Linked DNA regions of Homo sapiens: all the other regions are linked to region 2. The links are contacts of gene promoters, found by promoter capture Hi-C in blood cells and fetal thymus (Javierre and others, 2016). All regions are on one chromosome and are shown on one strand. The core of a region is centred on a gene start or on the middle of the fragment in contact, and the rest is flanking DNA. Distances in the headings are between cores, read along the strand shown.

Region 1 (4,663 bases), core at 496-2,995, 570 kb before region 2:
AATACACATCCACATAGCTCTCCTTTAATCTAAGAATTAGAATGTAGTTTCTTTCTGTATCTAAGATGGAAATAATAGGACAAGAATGGCAGGGCTATAGAACTTGCACATTGTTGTATAGTATTGGGTCTGTTACATCTGGAGAAAAATGGAACAGGAGTAGGTTTCTCGTACACAGGCCCACAGTCATAACCAGTGATTAAATCTAATTCAAAGCATGGACTTTGTGAAATGGAGTTCCTAGTGAGCTAGTATTAAGATGACTTCTCTAGTATAACACCTAACAAATGCACTGGTTAAAATGTACATATTTTAATAAAAGCCTCTGAGGACTGCTTACTTTTCCTGGACTGCATTTCAAATTGACTCAGGAACTGTTTATTGCATGGAGTTACAACAGGATTCTGACCATGAAGTTCTCTTTTAGGTAACAGATCCATTAACTTTTTTGAAGATGCTTCAGATCCAACACCAACAAGGGCAAACCTAAAAAGTGTTTAAGGGGTGAGGATACAAAGTAAAAAGAGATCAATATTATTACTGTTATTCTTCTGTAAAAAGGTCTTAATCTGCTTTTATCTAAAACAACAGCTGGGCACAGTGGCTCATGCCTGTAATCCCAGCTGCTTAGAAGGTTGAGGCACGAGGATTGCTTGAGCCCAGGAGTTTGAGGCTACAGTAACCTATAATCACACTACTGCACTCCAGCCTGGGCAACACAGTGAGATCCTGTCTCTAAAAATAAATAATTTTAAAAACTAAAAATATTTCTTAACTATACGAGTACACATTTTTGTTCATCTTGTATAACATACCATAGAATTCAGTCATTCAAAATATATAATTCAGTGGTTTTTAGTATTTCACAGTGTTATAACCACCACCATAATCAATTTTAAAACATTTTCATCACCCCAAAAAGAAACTCCATATCCATTAGCCATCGCTCCCATTCCTTCCCATCCCTGTACCCTATGGAACCACTAAACCTAATTTCTGTCTCTGGACTGGCCTATCCTAGACATTTCATCTAAATGGAATCATACAATAGGAGGTCCCTTGTGACCAGCCTTCTTTAACTAGCATGTTTTCAAGCTTCATCCACTGTTACAGCATGCATCACCACTTACTTTTATGGGTGAATAATTTTCCATTATAAATATACAACATTAAAAGAAATGTATCCATCAGTTCATGGACATTTGGGTTGCTTCCACTTTTTGCTACAATAAAAAGATGTACAATATCATTAACTATTGGGGAAGTGCAAATCAAAACCACAAGATACCACCCCATACCCACTAGGGTGGCTATAATCAAAAAGACAAGTATTAAAGATGTGGAGAGGCCGGGTGCAGTGGCTCACGCCTATAATCTCAGCACTTTGGGAGGCCAAGGCAGGAGGATCATGAGGTCAGGAGTTCAAGACCAGCCTGACCAACATGGTGAAACCCCGTCTCTACTAAAAATTCAAAAATTAGCCAGGCATGGTGGCGTGTGCCTGTAGTCCCACGCTGGGAGGCTGAGACAGGAGAATCGCTTGAACCTGGGAGGCAGAAGTTGCAATGAGCCAAGATTGCGCCACTGCACTCCAGCCTGGGTGACAGAGTGAGACTCTGTCTCAATAAATAAATAAATAAATAAATATGTGGAGAAACTGGAACCATTGCACATTGCTGATGAGCACGTATTAATAAAATGGCACAATGCCTCTGGCAAATAATCTGGTAATTCCTCAAACATTTAAACATAGAGTTACTATATTAACCCAGTAATTCCATTCCTAGGTACACATCCAACAGAACTGAAAATACATGTTCACACAAAATGGGTACACAAATATTCACAGGGGCATTTTCCTTAATAGCCAAAAGTGGAAATAACCTAGACGTCCATCGACTGATAGATTAAAAGAAAAAAGTGCTATATCCATGTAGTGGAATATTACTCAGCCATAAAAAGAAATGCTGATGCATGCTTCAACATGGATGAACCTTAAAATCATTATGCTAAGGAAAAAAGCCAGTCACATAGGACTACGTATTTTATGATTCCATTTAGATGAAATGTCCAGAACAGGCATATCCAGAGCACGTTAGCAGTTGCCAGCAGATAGGAAGAGAGGAAATGGGAGTGACTGCTAACCAGGTACAAGGTTCCTTCTTGGAGTGATGAAATGTTCTGGAATGAGACAGTGGTAATGGTTGCTAAACTTCATAAATATAATAAATTATCATTGAATTGTACATTTAAAAGCCTGCATTTTATGGCATATGAATTATACCTCAAAAAGAAAAACAAATTTAAAATAATCAGAATGATTACCAATTCGTATAGTTACAGGATATTCTAAATTATTTGAGGGAGGGAGGGTCTTAGTAGCTTAAGAAGCTTAAGCTCTTTTCCCCCTAATGTTCAATATGATCTTTTAAATTATCCTTCTTATTTTAGTCAACAAGTTCTGCTGTTTGCACCAGGATTATCTTGGGTCACAACATTTAGAAAAAACTAAATTAATTTAACAAATATTTATTAAGCACCACTTCTTATACGCAAGGTACCATTCTAGAGCTGGAGAAGTAATAGAGAACAAAACAAAATCTCTGTTCTCATTAAGCTTAAAGGCTTGGAAGAGGAGACAACAAACGAGTAAAATATATCAGAGCAGAAATAAAGGAAACAGGATAGGAAGGTGCTACTTTGCACAAGATGGTCATGGAAGAAAACTCTTAAACAGTTTGAGTCCTGAATGAAGTCAAAGAGTAAGCCATGTGGATATTTGAGGGGGAAAAGTAAACCAAGAAGAGAAAACAGCTAAAGGTCCTAGGTAGGAATTGGTCTGGCCAACAGCAAAGAGACTAATGTGGCTGAAAAAGAGTGGTAGGATAGGGTTAGAAAGGTGGTGGGAAAACAGACCAGAAAGTACCTTGTAGACAATGGTAAAGAATGAGACAGACAGGAAACCATGAGAAGATTGAGCAGAATGTCATTTTTTTTTTAGAACTTCTGTTATGTGGAGTACAGACTGTAGGGGGCAGTCTATACTTCCAGTTAGGAAGCTACTGCCAAAGTTTAAGTGAGAGATGATAGTGGCTTTGACCAAGTGGTATAAGTAAAGTTAGTGAGAAGTATTCAGACTCTGCATATATTTTGAAAATATTCTCAGTTTAGTATAAATTGGTATAATCTTCTAAGATAAGTAAGCAATATAAGAAATAAGAAAATTCTTTATCATTGTGCATCTAACAATTTATCCTTAAAAGAAAATCCAAAATCTGTACCAAAAGACTTATATAAAATGATGTCTGCTGCAACATTATTTACAATAGGCAAAAGTGGAAACCACCACGATAACCAAAAATAAGAAAGGTAAATTACAGTAGCATACCAGGTATGATGCAAAAGAATTAGACATTAGAGAGGATGTGTATTTATTTTTATTCCTTATATCAAACATATAAAACACATGAATTATAATTCCATTATTTATTTATTTATTTATTTTTAGGAAAAAGCCCAAAAGAATCTTCACTAAAATGTTAAAAGTAAACATCAATGAATGGTAGGACAGTGGTATTTTATTTTCTTACTTTTAGATATCTGTATTTATAATGTTCTCATGCTGAGGCTATCCCACTTGTATAGTTTAGTAGTGAAATAAAGCAAAATATCCATGTAACACATTATTCAGTTGCCCATCTTCTCCCATCTCTTAATCACAGGGAGAGTAATGGTTCTTAAACTGTCATTTCAACAACCATTTCAACCACAGATAGAGAAAACTTGGGAAAAATAGAAAATAAATCTGTCCACATTTCCACTCTACTGGTTTTAGTGTGTTAGGTAATAGGGTACGTAAAATGAAAAGTATCAATCTTTGCCCAAGAACCTCCTTCCAATGTAAACAATCATGTGTTGTTTGTATACATGTGTATACATGTGTAATTAACATTAACTTAAAGGAAAGTTAACTTGTAAAAACTGTATCACTAGCTACTAAATCAAAAAGAAAGAAAAAAAAAACTTACCCCTTTGACTGGCCATTTGCCCGATTTTCAAAAAATTTTATCTCCAAAATATCATTTACTCCCAAAGAATGAACTGCTTCAGTTAAGTCTTCATCTGTTGTCCACTGCAAGATATTTTCCCCCTCATTAACCATTAAAATAAAACCAAGATTTTTATTATCCCAGTCTAGTTTTTAAGGGGAAATTTGAGACATAAAAGAGAAAATAAATGCTGAGTGCAAATCTAAGTCTAGTTATGGCCAGTCAGACTCCAATTTTTAAACAGCACAAAAACCATCTGGGAACCTAACTTCATTCCCTGATAAGTATTTCAGAAACTAGAAGGTATATACCCTTGGGGTTACAATAAGATTTGACTCTCAAGAGTTTCTGGTCCCTTACAGCTTTAAACTGCTATGATTTTAAATTGTGAATAAAACCAATTTCACTTCCTCCCATTAAAGGAAAGTATTTTGAATTTCATCTTGTTTTTGAATTAAAATGCAGATAAGAAAAAACTAACATGTATTTAATATCTACCATATACTTTATGTATCAACTAACTCTTATAACAACCATATAAGCACTATTATTATACCCATTTTACACATGATACAATAGAAGTTAAAGAGCTTTAACTCTTTAACAAGGTCACA
Region 2 (4,811 bases), core at 790-3,289:
CCGTGTCACCTCTGCCTCCCGGATTACAGGGGATGATATCTCTCCAAAGCCACTCCTAAAGTAGTATAATCAAGCTTATATAAGTGAAACGAGAATATAGCATTTATAAAGAATTTTATCATCACAGTTGGAGTAAAGGACCCTGAGTAAGTTAAGGTATAGTCATTCTAGTAGCCAAGTCTTAGATCTTTTGTTGAGAACGCACTCCTGGCTCCAAATCCTGCTTATTCTTCAAAGCCTTACTCAAATCTTACCTGCACAAAGACTTCTCTGACTTTCTAGTACTCACTATGTTATTTTCTCCTAAGGAATTATTTCAACACTTGGAATCTATATTATAACACTGTTTTAGATAATTGCTTCATGAAAGTGAATCTTATTTCCCTTGTTGGATTGAGGAGTTACCTAACTGCAGGAATTCTCTCTTAAAAGATTTTCTGCAGTCTCCAAAATGCTTTAAACCATGGGTACTATTAAAAAACAAACAAACAACAACAACAACAAACAGAGCTTGCAACAACAACAACAAACAGAGCTTGTGAGATAGAAGGGTAAGTAAAAGAATTGTGGTAAATTGGAGCAAAATGACCCTTCAAGTTATTTCAACCCAGGAGGTCTCCTGTCCCATCACAACACTCCCTGTCAGTTTCACTCAAAGGTCTAGAAACTAAATTGTGCGGACTAAAAGGCCTGTGTTTAAGACAAGAATCTAATATGCTTTTCCTCCACTTAAAACCTTCAGATATTCCTTCAGCAGGAAAGTATGGGAAACAACCACATAGAAACAATTTTAAACGTTTAACAATTAAAATTAAAAACAAAAAAAAAAACCTTCAGATAGCTCTCTGGTCTATAGAAGTAAAAATTTCCTAAAATGATATTTACAATGTGACCCCAGTTTAGGGGTTCAGTCTTCTATTCAGCCACAAACATCACTTTAAACGTATACTGCATGTGACCACTGAGCTACACGTACTTTTTTTTCATATCCTAGCACCTCTGAATATGCTTCTTTTACAAAGACCTACATTTGCCCCCTTGAGCACCTGGTCAACAACTACTTACTCCTCAAAGAGCCTCAGGTAGGCTGGAGACACACAGATGCAGGTTGGCAATTTGGTTCTTGTATTTATTAGCTTCCGAACTTTCAGCAAGTTCCTTAACCTCTTTTAGTCTCAGTGTTATATATGAAAAAAGGATAACAGTACCCATCTCATAGGATTTTTCTTGTTCTGAAGATTAAATAAGCTAATAATATATATTCAACGCCTTTAGAACAATGGCAGTCACATAGTAGGTACTCAATGTTTGGAGTACGAATAATGTACTCTTATTATTCAAAGACCAGCTAGAAAGTTACCTTCTTTGAGGGGTCTTCCTGATAGTTACAGTGACAAGGAGACTTAATCGCCCCCAAACACTTACCACTTTACACTGCTTGGTTGTCTCCATTACACAACTAATTCCCCGAGGGGAAGGATCTTGAATAACTGATCTTTGTTGTAGGCGGCTAGCACAGTACCCAGATCATAGAGGGAACTCAGAATCTGATGCTGGCACTTGTAATCAGAAAGTCTGGGCTGAGATCCCAGTATCTTCACTGACTGGCTTTGTGATCTCAGGCTGGTCACTTAGCATTTCGAACGCCGCGCTACCTACCCCGCCCACCCCAGGAGCGAACAGTGTTGCTGCCCCAAAGCGCCGAATAGATCGCAGAACGTAGTGGGAAAGTAAGGGACTATTATGATCTGTACCCCACCCCGACGCACGCCAAGCGGCTTTTTCCCCATTTGTGGCCAAATTTCCCGGCATGGGGAAGGAGCCTTAGGGGAAGCACCCGGGACCTCCTTGGCTTCTTCTGGGAGTCTAGTTTCACCTATTTCGTTTCGCCAACAGGCGAGACGGGCAAGACTTCGGGCTCAGCTGCCACCATCAGTACTGACCTGTCCATGGCTAAAGCCTTTTCCACACACAACCAAAGTTGGCTGCAGTTTAGCTACCGCGTTTTAGCCTTCCCGCTCTCCGGAAGCAAGCCCTTCGACCCGGAAGCAGTCTGTCCCTAAAACAGACCCACAGAAAAGGGGTAGGGGAGAAGAAACAACGTTCCCATCTAGCGCATGCGCGACTTCAGCCTACAGGTGCACGCCCGGTGGGCGCAGGCGCAAAAGTTTGCCAATGTGTTCCTGGTTGCGTTTAGCCCAGACGCCCTGCGGCCGCTTTGCCTGACCAAAGTCTGTGGGCGTGGAACAGGCCCTGGGTTCTCCTACTGGGAAGAATGAAGTATGTTGATAGTCTGGAAAAATGTGAAGTCATTTCCTGGTATTCTCTGTCAGAAAGCGCCTGTTCTTGGAATTCAGATGCGTGGGCTCTGCCCCACACCTCGGGGATCTCTATCTCTCTGCCTACACTCAGTCCTTTGTTCTGTAGCCCCCTGCAGTTTTTGCAACTATTTTCCATAACTGCTATTTGTTCTTTACTTGGTGTTCTTTCCTATTAAGGAGAAAAAGTTCACCTGTATTAAAAAGTAGAAAGGCAAGCGTGAAATATGATGGTATTGCCCTCTATTTCAAAGTGCCGTCTAGGCAAAAAGTGGTGTATTTTGGTCTTGAAGGAGTCAGTCACATTTTTGTTTTGGTTTTTGTTTTTTCCAGTTTGAAAGTAGTGACTGGCTATTAACTGACCAGATTACAAAAATAATGTTAGATGCTTCAGTTTATCCGTTTAATAAGCCTGTTGATATAGTCTTTTCTGTTGCTGGCATTTATACCTTTTATTAATACAAAATAGGTAGTCCTTCATTCTCCCTCGTGGAGAAGATAATTTGAAGGATCACAGGAACTTGAGTTTTTCAACAGCATAGATCTCATGAATCAGATTCTCCAGTCAGATGATGCCATATTTATCAGGAAATCTAGCAATCAAAGCGTTATCTGTTAAGGTAATTTGTTTATTGATTTTGCCATAACCAATTTGTAGATCAGTTCATTTACTGATTTCAGGTTCAGGTACTCCATGTGATATATGGTTCCACAATCCTCAGCGTGTTAACTGAAGCCTTGTTGAGTTTAACAAAGCTGCCATTGAAGATCTGGGGAAAGTGAAGAAGTTGCAACAGAGTTTTGGGCTCACACCATTGATACATTTGATCCTTAAGGCAAGTGACAATTTGGGTTTCACAGGTATATAGAAATTGCCAGCTTTTCTTGCCATATATTTCTTGTGACAGTGCTGAGCTTTTTTTTTTTACTTCTTGCTTGCTTTTTTTTGGACTTGATTTTTTAAATTATGTTTCCTTCCTTCCTTCTTTCTTTGTTTTTTTTTTTTTTGAGACAGGATCTTGTCCTATTGTCCCGGCTTACGTGCAGTGGCACAGTCACGGCTCACTGCAGCCTTGACCTCCTGGGCTCCAGCAATCCTCCTACCTCAGCCTCCCTAGTACCTGAGGTTGCTGGGACCACAGGCACGCACCACCATGCCTGACCTCCTCTCCTCCCCCGTTTTTTAAAAATATTTTGGAGAAATGGGGTCTTATGTTGTTGCCCAGGCTGGTCTCAAACTCTTGGGCTCAAGCCATCCTCTTACCTGGGTCTCCCAAAGTGCTGGGATTACAGGGGTTAGCCACCACATCTGACAGTGCCTAGCTTTTTCATAGATGTAGCTTTCTCCTTGCTTTTCTTTTTCTTTTTTTTCGAGATGGAGTCTCATTCCATTGCCCAGGCTGGAGTGCAGTGGTGCCATCTCGGCTCACTGCAACCTCTGCCTCCTGGGTTCAAGCGATTCTCCTGCCTCAGCCTCCTGAGTAGCTGGGATTACAGGTGTCTGCCACCACACCCGGCTAATTTTTGCGTTTTTGGTAGAGATGGGGTTTCACCATGTTGTCCAGGCTGGTCTTGAACTCCTGACCTCAGGTGATTCACCTGCCTCAGCCTCCCAAAGTGCTGGGATTACAGGCGTGAGCCACTGCGCCTGGCCTTCTCCTTTCTTTTCAAAGCATTTTATGGGCAAACTTCTTTCTCAGGCACTTGACCTTTAGCTCTGTGAAATTCCTTCATGTGTTTTATTTTTATTTTTTGAGACAGAGTCTTGCCCTTTTGCCCAGGCTGGAGTGCAGTGATGCAATCTTGGCTCACTGAAACCTCTGCCTCCCCGGTTCAAGCGATTCTTGTACATCAGCCTCCCAAGTAGCTGGGATTACAGGCGTGCACCACCATGCCCAGCTAATTTTTGTATTTTTAGTAGAGGCGGGGTTTCACCATGCTGGCCAGGCTGGTCTCGAACTCCTGACCTCATGATCCACCCGCCTCGGCCTCCCAAAGTGCTGGGATTACAGGCATGAACCACAGTGCCCAGCCTTCCCTCACATTTTTAAAGGGTTTCTGGCACAGCAGGAATCTTCTTTTTCTTGTCTTCAATACCCTCCATGGTTTCAGCTGGGAAAGAGGAAATCAGTGGAAGTTTTGCCTTAGGCATTTATGTTCTGCTGTAATTCTGGGAAGCATAGTTCCCCGGAAGGCCTCTTCATACCTTATTATCCCCTCTCAGACAACATGGCATTTTGATAAAAACATTGCTTTGGGCTCCATCTAGGTTCAACCCCCCTGCACCTGCAGATTCCTCATCTGTAGAGTGGAGAAAACAATACCTTTGTCAGGGGGTGTTGTGAGGATTAAACAAGATGTCATAGGGAGTCCCTGTCTCTAACATAAGTTTTAAAAATTAGCCACGTGTGGTGACACGTGCCTGTGGTCCCAGCTACTTGGGAGGCTGAGGCAGGAGGATCACTTGATCCTGGCAGGCCGAGGCTGCAATGA
Region 3 (4,807 bases), core at 1,300-3,799, 650 kb after region 2:
CCATTTAGATCCTTTATGCTTGGGGGAAAAAAAAAAAGTTACCATTGATTGACTGGAAGGAACTATTCTAAACACTTCATATATACTTACTCCTTTATTCTTGACAATCCTATAAGGCAGATACTACTATTAGCCTCCTTTTAAAGATGAGACAACAGAGATTAAAAAATTAAGTAATTTGTCTAGGCAAGGTCCTACAATGACAAAGCTGGAATTTGAACCAAGGCAGTCTTGTTCTAGAGTTTATATCTGCATTATCCTCCTTCTCCTTTGGTAGGACAAAGTAGATCTATTGGGCATGCATATGAGACTTGTTTACATCTATACCTTGTAAAAATAAATTTGCTTTTAAACTTAGGTATTTATCTTTTGCCTTGATGACGGCAGCAGGTGCCTAAATGGCCTCCCCAGGCATGAACAGATTCCCCACCAGTTCTGCTCTCCATGCGGTAACCAGAGTGACCTTTTTAAAAAATTGTGAATGAATAAACTAAAGAATACTTTCTCTCATCACCTCTTCTCTATACAGAAAAAAATATAACCAGTCTTACCAAAAAGTTAGATTAGTCAGCTAAGCAAACAGGGTTCGAATATTCTAGCACCCTGAAACCACAGTCTAAAATGGTCTTCTGATGTGTGGTTATAACACTTAATATACAGTGTTTGTCTCTTAGTAACTTTAGGTTTATCTTATTCAGCATCACATTATTTATCCTGTAAGGAAGTAAGCATATCTTCTCTGTTTCATAAGAAGATACCTTACTGTACAAAATGGTACTGTGGCCTAAAGTCACCCAATAAATATGGTGCAGGTTTGGAGTTGTTACTTAGAGTAGAATGCAACTCCTAAAATCTAAATATTTTTCAAAACCTGGATGAGATGTGCAGTGGAACCCTGTAAACACAATCTTTTTTTTGAGACGGAGTCTCGCTCTTTCGCCCAGGCCGGAGTGCAGTGGCGCTATCTCGGCTCACTGCAAGCTCCGCCTCCCGGGTTCACGCCATTCTCCTGCCTTAGCCTCCGGAGTAGCTGGGACTACAGGCGCCCGCCACCGCGCCCGGCTAATTTTTTATGTTTTTAGTTGATACGGGGTTTCACTGTGTTAGCCAGGATGGTCTCGATCTCCTGACCTCGTGATCTGCCCGCCTCGGCCTTCCAAAGTGCTGGGATTACAGGCAGGAGCCACCGCGCCCAGACAACACAATCTTAAACAGAAGCTTTATATGTAAACCACATAAAAGCTGCGCAAGTTGAATAGGAGGCAATAAATGAGGGAGGTGTGTGCTTGGGCCTCTAGAAAGACATAGGAAGCATATTTGAGAAATCTCTAGGGCTTGGCTTCAAAAACATTATTGTAAAGCATGTGTGCATCTAAGGTAACGGCGCTATAACTTGTAATAAAGATGGGAAGGAGAGAAGCTGCCAATCCCAAACTGATGGTCAATATTTGTGGATTCCAACATTCCCAGTTCCTTTATTTATTTCTGGACTATCTAGTTTTCTATGGCTCATCAAATAAAAATCAATATGCCCATATTTACACAAAGCCACCTTCATGCCCTCTTCCAGGAGGAACCAGAGAACTTGAGACTTCCCAGCTACAATTTCCAACCTTGCTCTTCTGGGTTTTCCATTCCATGTTGAGCACTCAGAGATTTTACTAGGTTTAAGCTTTCTTGCCTGGTGGGTGGGAGTAGGGAGGGGGGTGGAAATGAGGTGACCATTTATTGAGTATTTGCTCTGAGGCAGTGGTGGTGGGGTCGGGGGTTCCTTCCTGCTTATCAGAGCTGTGCACCTGCTCACTTGCCAGATGATATGCAAAAAAGAATCCAAAGAAGCAGCAAGAAAGCCAATACGTTTTCTTAGATCAAAATGACATATCCCAAAGCTCCTCTCTTTCCGATTATTTTTGATGAGAGCAAAATTATTATACTCAACTCCAGTGTGAATCTACATCACAGGGGGAGATTATTTTAGGTGAAAATTCCCTTATGATTAAATAGATGTTTGTGTGCTTATTTTTGTTGTTTTAAGAATCCTCCAGGATAATTCTGATGCAAACAGGCCTAAAGCCAGAAAGACTGACATACAGGTTTATTTGATAAATTGAAGTTTATTAAATACTATGACCATTATTTTCTGCATTAACCTTATAATATTGGTCACTTGTCTTCCTTTCAAGTTTAAAAACATTTTTTTAAACAGGCTTGAAACCTGCGGGGAAAACATATTATTGTGACATATCACATATCACAACATATCACATTGGCCCTGAGGATTAAACTGTTTCCAGATCCATCTGGTCTGACAGACATAAGTGATTGATTCTTGCTTGGTCTGTAACACACCCCAAATGCATTCACCTGCTATGCCATTGCCCCCTCTTCATTTTCTACTATGAGCTTTAAAAAACTGGAGTTATACATCTCATGGCTCTTAAACTAATGCATGGCTTGTTCCTGACTGCCTTCCAGCACTGGAAGAAAAAAGTAATATCTTTGTGACAGCATGATTACTTCCACCTGTGACAGCTCTTCTCCATTGTGAAATCTGCAAAGAAATCATCTGGAAGGGGAAAATACATGTGTTCTGGGATTAAAGACATAACAGGCATGTACTGAATGTGTCAAAAAATTTGAGATGTTGAGGGAGCTGAAGACAAGCCCTCTACATTGTAGATGTAGTACCATAAGGAATTTTCTAAAGAAGTCTTATGAAGCAATTGTTTTCAGTGGTTTACTACATTTATGAATCTTCAGCCCATCAGTGGAAAATATGATGCTCTGAGAGTCAGCCATGAAGCTGGGCTAGAGTGGGGTGCTAGTTTATCTTGAAAGATAGTTCTTTCAAGATGTATAATGCCCTGTTTCTCCCAGCTATTACATTTCACTTCATTTCTCTAGACCACAGGGTTCTAAGACACTTAGTCTAATTTAGAGGCAGTCTTTTGTTAAGACACCACTGAAGCATATAAAGTTCAGCCAGTGGGACCCAATTGGGTAGCTTTATAGAGAGAAGTCCAGATTTAGTTATCAATGTTAATAGGTAGGTCTTTTCATTAATGTCAGCCAACCAATGTACTACAACACATCATATTGTTTTTTAAAGGACACATCTAATTAGCATCATGATCAGACTATTACATTGAGCAGTCAACAGCATGGGTGCAAAGAAAAATTGACATTAAAACCCTTTATAGGCATGGTTTACACTTTCTACAGAACAGAAACTAAAATAAACTGTTGTACAATTGGTCACAACTACAGTCCTTGAGATTTTTGCCCATACACATGAATATTGTCAAAAACATGTCTTCTTTGTAGCAGCTAGGTCCTACCACGACTGTGCTTGGCTGAGTTAAAAAATCTGTTGTAACCTGTAGTTTCCTTGTCATGTTTCCAGCTGTCCTCTCCTGCTAAGCTTTGTCTCGTGACAGTAATTAAAATCTGGCTGGGCACAGTGGCTCATGCCTATAATCCTAGCACTTTGGGAGGCCAAGGCGGGTGGATCACGAGGTCAGGAGTTTGAGATCAGTCTGGCCAACATAGTGAAACCCCATCCCTACTAAAAATACAAAAAATTAGCTGGGTGTGGTGGTGGGCACCAGCTACTAGGGAGGCTGAGGCAGGAGAATTGTGTGAACCCAGGAGGCAGAGGTTGCAGTGAGCCGAGATCACGCCATTGCACTCCAGCCCGGGGGCAACAGTGCGAGACTCCGTCTCCAAACAACAACGACAAAAAAAAAAAAAAACAAAAACAAAAAACAGTAGCTACTGCTGTAGCTACTGTTGCTACTGGAACCACCATAGCCACCTTGGTTTCGTGGTTTGGCAAAGTATTGGCCTCCACCACCATAGGGGTCAGAGCTTCTGCCTTCAAAGTTTCCTGCCTTCATGGGTTCAAAATCTGAAGACTGATTGTTGTACTTGCCAAAATCATTGTATCTTCTACCACTTCTGCAATTGCTTCCACTACCACTGCCAAAGCCCCTTCTGCTTCCGTCGTTATAGCTGTCACAGAAGCCACTGCCCTTGTTTCTACAACCCTCTCCACCACTTCCATAGCCTTGGCTTTCTTCAGAGTAACCAGGGCCACCTCCTCCATAACCAGTGTCATTACCAAATCCATTATAGTCATCCTCACTGCCACCATATCCACTACTATCACAGCTGCCGCCAAAGCCACCATGACCACTGAAGTTTTCTCCATGACCAAAGTTGTCTATCCCACCAAAACTGCCTCCATGACCACCACCAAAGTTTCCAGAACAATTTTGGCTTCTTTGCCTGGATGAAGCACTAGCCACCTCTTGCTTTGACAGGGCTTTCCTAACTTCACAGTTGTGGCCATTCCCAATGTGGTATTTCTGAATGACAGTCTTATCCACGAAGTCATGGCCATCAAAGGTGACAAAAGCAAAGCGCTTTTTCTTGCCACTGCCTTGGTCAGTCATGGTTTCAATCACTTCAATTTTCCCATGCTGTTCAAAATAATCTCTTTGGTGATGTTCTTCAGTGTCTTCTTTAATGCCGCCAACAAATATCTTTTTCACGGCTAAGTGGGCACTTGGTCTCTGAGAATCTTCTCCTGAGATAGCTCTTTGGTTGTACAACTCTTCCATCCCCTTGTGTGGCCATGCATGCATCTGCCTCCTCCACAGTGGCATTTGTGACAATCCCAAAAGCTCTGGAGCACTTGGTGTTTGGATCTCATTGCTACACAGTTTGTGAGCATTTCCCCATTACTCAAAATGGCTCCTCAGGCTCTCAGCGGTTGTTTCAAAGCTCAACCCTCCAATGAGGAGCT
Region 4 (4,771 bases), core at 400-2,899, 910 kb before region 2:
AACCCAGGAGGCAGAGGTGGCAGTGAGCTGAGATCATGCCTCTGCACTCCAGCCTGAGTAACAACAGTGAAACTCTATCTCAAAAAATAAATAAATAAAATAAAAGGGGCCAGGATCAGTGGCTCACACCTATAATCCTAGCACTTTGGGAGGCTGAGGCAGGAGGATTGCTTGAGGCCAGCCTGAACAACATAGTGAGACTGCCCCCCCATCTCTAAGAAAATAAAAATAATTTAGTCAGGCATTGTGGCACATGCCTTTAGCCCTAACTACTTGGAAGGCTGAGGAAGGAGAACTGCTTGAGCCAGGGGTTCAAGGCTGCAGTGAATTATCATGGTGCCACTGCACTCCAGCCTGGGGAACAGAGCAAGACCATTGTGTCAGTTATAATAATAGTAATAACAACAATAATGTCAACTACTGATCACCCATATTAATAGAAGACAACATATCAAATAATAAAAAACAAATGGAAGAAAATTCATAAGTTACCTACCCAACTTCTCTTCTTGTGAGAATCCTGCTTCATTTTCTCACAGATTAACTGGTGCTCCCTCTTGTTCAATGACAGGATTATCTACCTTCTTAAGACTACTCTATAATGTCCAGCACAGCTTGTCAGAAAGTTTTTCAATATGAATTAAATCTGCCTCATTGGCCACTTTTATCTATGGACTAGAGATCTGTGATCTGTACTCAAGATTATCTTGCAGTAAGTTTACTATGAAATTAGAAGTTAATACTGATTGTATAAACAACATAATAGTTTATGTTATTTTTCAGAATGTAAGTATTGTTTATATTTAAATCCTATAGTCGTTATATACCAAATAGTTACAAATCTTCTAACCAGTTTTACATGTCTTATGGAATAACAAAGTTTGGGAAATGCTGAGCATATAAAGTCACACACATTTTCCCAGCACATGTAATGATTATGAGGACAAAGTCCAAAAGAGTCTTTTATACGGTTATTGTAACTCTTTATGTTCCAAAAGAAAAAAAAAGCTTAGTGAAAAGAGTTACTTTTAACAACGGCCACAAAGTTCCCCTTGATTGCTTACCCAATCCAGCAGTGGTATTGCCTTCACTGTGAGCAGCCCTGAGCTGTGCCACCAGGTCTGCACTGTCATAGCCTGCATTGTCAGCTATGATGGTTGGCAACTATGAAAATGAAGAAAACAAGTAACTACTCACTCTACTGTAAGAACCACTGATTTACTCCTAACTAGGATAGCTTTTTAAAATTATACATTTAGGAACAATGTAAAATCTGCTTCAGTTACTGCTCACGAAGAGGAGAAACTCCAGAATCAAATTTAAAAGCAGTATTAACCAGTTCATTTTCTACTCATTTTAAAACTATCAATAACCACAAAACTTAAGTTCGGATCTCTCATTTTGATTAACTTACCATTCTCAGTGCTTTAGCATAAGACTCCATTGCAACAGCTTCTTTGCCTGGTGTTCTATTGGCAAGCTGTGTCACAGCATGAGCCATCAACATCTCAGAACAGCCTAAAGATTAAAATTCCAATAAAATATTGCAATGCTTAGTTGTCTCCAAGATACTGAATTACTGACTTTAAGATATGCCAAGCATTTTAAAATTTAGTGCAAAAGCAATATAAGATTTCTGTAAGAACCATTAAAACCACTTATGACTTATATTGTACTTTAAGAAATTAAAAATATATTCAACATTTTCTAAATGCTTACCTCCTCCATAAACTGTTCTAGAGTCCTTTACAGTTTGCGCAAGAACACAAAGAGCATCATGCAATGATCTTTCTGCTTCATCTAAAATTTGTTGAGTGGCACCACGCAAAACAATGGTACAAGCCTCACCTAAAATTAAAAGACACAGTGACCACTTAGGGATAAAAAGTTTGCCTTCTATTATTTATGCCGGTGTTGGTTATATTACTGGGTTCTGAAAGCTGACCTGTCTTCCTGTATTATACATTCTCCAACAATCAAGGCTCATAATGGTTCTAAGTTATCAAGGAAAAAAAACTGTTGAACATGCACTGTTCACAAAGACACGGTAAATATGAGGTTGACTCAAGAGACTGAAACAAAGTATGTATCATGCTTCTGAAGAGTTAAGACTTGTAAGATATGCTATTCTAGTAACTACAATAACCTTTACTTCAACAGAGCCTAGCAAGAATTTAGACACCCTAACCAGGATCTACATAATCACTCACCAAGGGCAACCCCAGAAAAGTGAATGAGTTTGTCTTCTCCAATCATGACTTCCTCGATAAGTTTGCAACTTCCAAGCTTCACCAGTTCTGGGTGATCAAAGGTAGAGGCAATTTCACCACCTATAAACATAAACATGTATTAGTTAAATGCACAGCAGGCTTAAAATTCCTGTTTTCTAATAAGCAGTAATGGATAGATAATGATAGGTAATGTGTTTCACATTTTAAAAATTGATTGCTGATTATATTCCTGGCACTCTTTTTAAATACTTCATATCGACTAATTATTTAATCTTTAAAATAATCCTCTTGGATAGGCTCCATTATTATCCCATTTTACACATGATAAAAATGAGGCCAAGAGGTTTACCTTCCTATCCAAAGACCTAACTAGGATGAATATAAAAAGCTGGGGTTCAAACTCAAGCAGTCTGGCTTCAGACCTATAAGCACACACTATACAATACTACCTTCCCAAGGTTAAACTGAGTCTTAAAGCAGTTACTTTTGAGTTTAAATTCAGATTCTCTTCTGAATCCAACCTATAAGACTAAGACCTCATGATACAATTCCCAGCACAAGACATGAAAATATTTGTCCTATAAGTCAACCACTATACACTTCATGAACTGCTTAATAAGCACCTGATATCTCTAATTATCACAAATGAAATGTCCTAAGGCCTAAAAAAACAAGAAATGCATACTAAGAATTTCCCAGACCAAATTTAATAAGAACAAATTAATTTAGTCCTTATGTCTCATTTCTATTCCTATTTTCCCTCCATCTTCCATGCTGTAAACTGAACAGGTCAGCCACTTCGTTCCCTATTTCCTAACTAAGCAAAAGTCAGGTTTCCATTTCAAAATCCTTTTCTCTAGCTGACTACTCCTTTCATAATGTGAATTGCATATATTATCAATCAACCCTTCTTTTCCTATGCCTTACTGATAAATCTGTCAATGCTCTATTATTTATTTTATAATAAATTCATAAAGACTCTGGTCTTTGAAACTACTAATTTATACTCATAATTTGTATAAAGTTCTTTTTACTTTTGGCTGGCAAAATTCTGAGACTGCTTTGTGTTCTAGATGTGAGACACAACAGATATTTGGGACGTCATATCCAAAAATAAGACTAACTTGGCTTATGAAACTTTTCACTTCATCCTTCTACATGAGACTTTTCTTTCTTTTTAAAGAGAGAGTGTCTTGCTACCTTGCCTAGACTGGAGCGCAATGACTATTCACCAGGCACCATCATAGCACAACCTCCTGGGCACAAGCAATCTTTCTGCCTCAGCCTCTTGAATAGATCAAACTGCTGGCACATGCCACCATGCCCAGTGCAAGACATTTATTTAATGACACTTGCAAGAACCAATGTCATCATACACCTTTGACAACCACTGAGCTTTTAAGGATGGGAGCCACCATGTGGTCACCTTCATAGACATACAGTTGGTGTACTTAATAAACATTCTTCTGGGTATAGAGCAATTTCATGTCAAGACCTTACGATATGTTTATCCCATCAATATATTATTACCATTTACTTCTTACATCTTTTTTTTTTTTTTTTTTTGAGACGGAGTCTCGCTCTGTCACCCAGGCTGGAGTGCAGTGGCGCCAATCTCAGCTCACTGCAACCTCCACCTCCCGGGTTCAAGTGATTCTCCTGCCTCAGCCTCCCGAGTAGCTGCGACTACAGGCACCCACCACCACGCCTGGCTAATTTTTTTATTTTTAGTAGAGACAGGGTTTCACCATATTGACCAGGCTGGTCTCAAACTCCAGACCTTGTGATCTGCCCACTTAGGCCTTCCTAAAGTGCTGGGATTAAAGGCGTGAGCCACCACACCCGGCCTCTTACATCTTTATTTTGTGGAACTAAAGAATGAATTACATAAACATGAGCATCTTAAATTGTGTTTATTTGTCACCTTAAAGCATCAAGTACGCAATGGCTCCTAAGTAACTTTAAAGCAAGTAAACCCACTTCAAGTAATTAAAGGAAAATGTCTCTTGGTTAGAAGACGACTATGCTTCTCAAATGATTAAAAAAAACGTCTTAAGAGATCATTCTGGGATGAGACCAAGTCCACTCTCCAAAGGTTAGTACACTATAATTTCTTCTAATATTCATGGCAGTTCCAAACAGTGTGACAGCCCTACTGACTTCACAACTCATAACCCAGGTCTCCTTAATTCTCATTCCCAAACCAACTTTCCAACCTATTCATTCATTTTCAAGGACCTAAAATCTAGAAAAGTGTTAAACTTATTTTCCAGGGCTTAGAGTGTACTATGAAAACCATTAACAAAACTATACTTATATCCCTAAATCTGTAAAAATTTAATAAACAATAATTTTTAAACCATTACCACAATAAAAAGCAAACAAGCTGCATTTTTTTTTTTTTTTTTAAAGACAGGGTCTTGCTCTGTCACTTAGGATGGACTGCAGTGACGTGATCACAGCTCACTGTAGCCTTGGACTCCTGGGCTGAAGAGATCTCCTGCCTCAACCTCCCAAGTAGCTAGGACTACAGGCATGTG

Evidence for each region. Contacts are between HindIII fragments. The CHiCAGO score rates a contact against its expected background, and 5 or more counts as called.
Region 1: a fragment that was not itself captured here is called in contact with the fragment with the promoter of NUP107 in region 2 in 1 of 17 cell types (monocytes); the score reaches 5.4 in monocytes.
Region 3: a contact is called between a fragment that was not itself captured here and the fragment with the promoter of NUP107 in region 2, in 1 of 17 cell types (activated CD4 T cells). The highest score is 5.1, in activated CD4 T cells.
Region 4: a contact is called between a fragment that was not itself captured here and the fragment with the promoter of NUP107 in region 2, in 1 of 17 cell types (monocytes). The highest score is 6.8, in monocytes.

Annotation. Positions count from the first base shown.
Region 1 is chr12:69,252,520-69,257,182 of GRCh38, reverse strand. CPSF6 (cleavage and polyadenylation specific factor 6) reads right to left here. Exons shown (of 10, transcript NM_007007.3): 3 at 4,029-4,132; 4 at 341-486. Among named protein-coding and RNA genes, the nearest start is that of CPSF6, 15 kb to the right of the region's middle. RefSeq lists an enhancer at 3,083-3,132 and a silencer at 4,208-4,408. The HindIII fragment of the contact is 1,296 bases long and covers 1,098-2,393 here.
Region 2 is chr12:68,684,206-68,689,016 of GRCh38, reverse strand. It overlaps NUP107 (nucleoporin 107), which reads right to left and starts at 2,039. Exons shown (of 28, transcript NM_020401.4): 1 at 1,944-2,039; 2 at 1-55. The coding sequence starts at 1,951. It overlaps LOC100507250 (a long non-coding RNA gene), which reads left to right and starts at 2,158. Exons shown (of 3, transcript NR_038930.1): 1 at 2,158-2,280; 2 at 3,000-3,154. It also overlaps the pseudogene RPL7P42. The HindIII fragment of the contact is 6,312 bases long and covers 77-4,811 here.
Region 3 is chr12:68,035,810-68,040,616 of GRCh38, reverse strand. It overlaps the pseudogene HNRNPA1P70. Among named protein-coding and RNA genes, the nearest start is that of IFNG-AS1, 49 kb to the right of the region's middle. The HindIII fragment of the contact is 1,749 bases long and covers 1,675-3,423 here.
Region 4 is chr12:69,594,715-69,599,485 of GRCh38, reverse strand. CCT2 (chaperonin containing TCP1 subunit 2) reads right to left here. Exons shown (of 16, transcript NM_006431.3): 11 at 2,211-2,330; 12 at 1,720-1,848; 13 at 1,415-1,518; 14 at 1,065-1,164. Among named protein-coding and RNA genes, the nearest start is that of CCT2, 12 kb to the right of the region's middle. The HindIII fragment of the contact is 1,278 bases long and covers 1,011-2,288 here.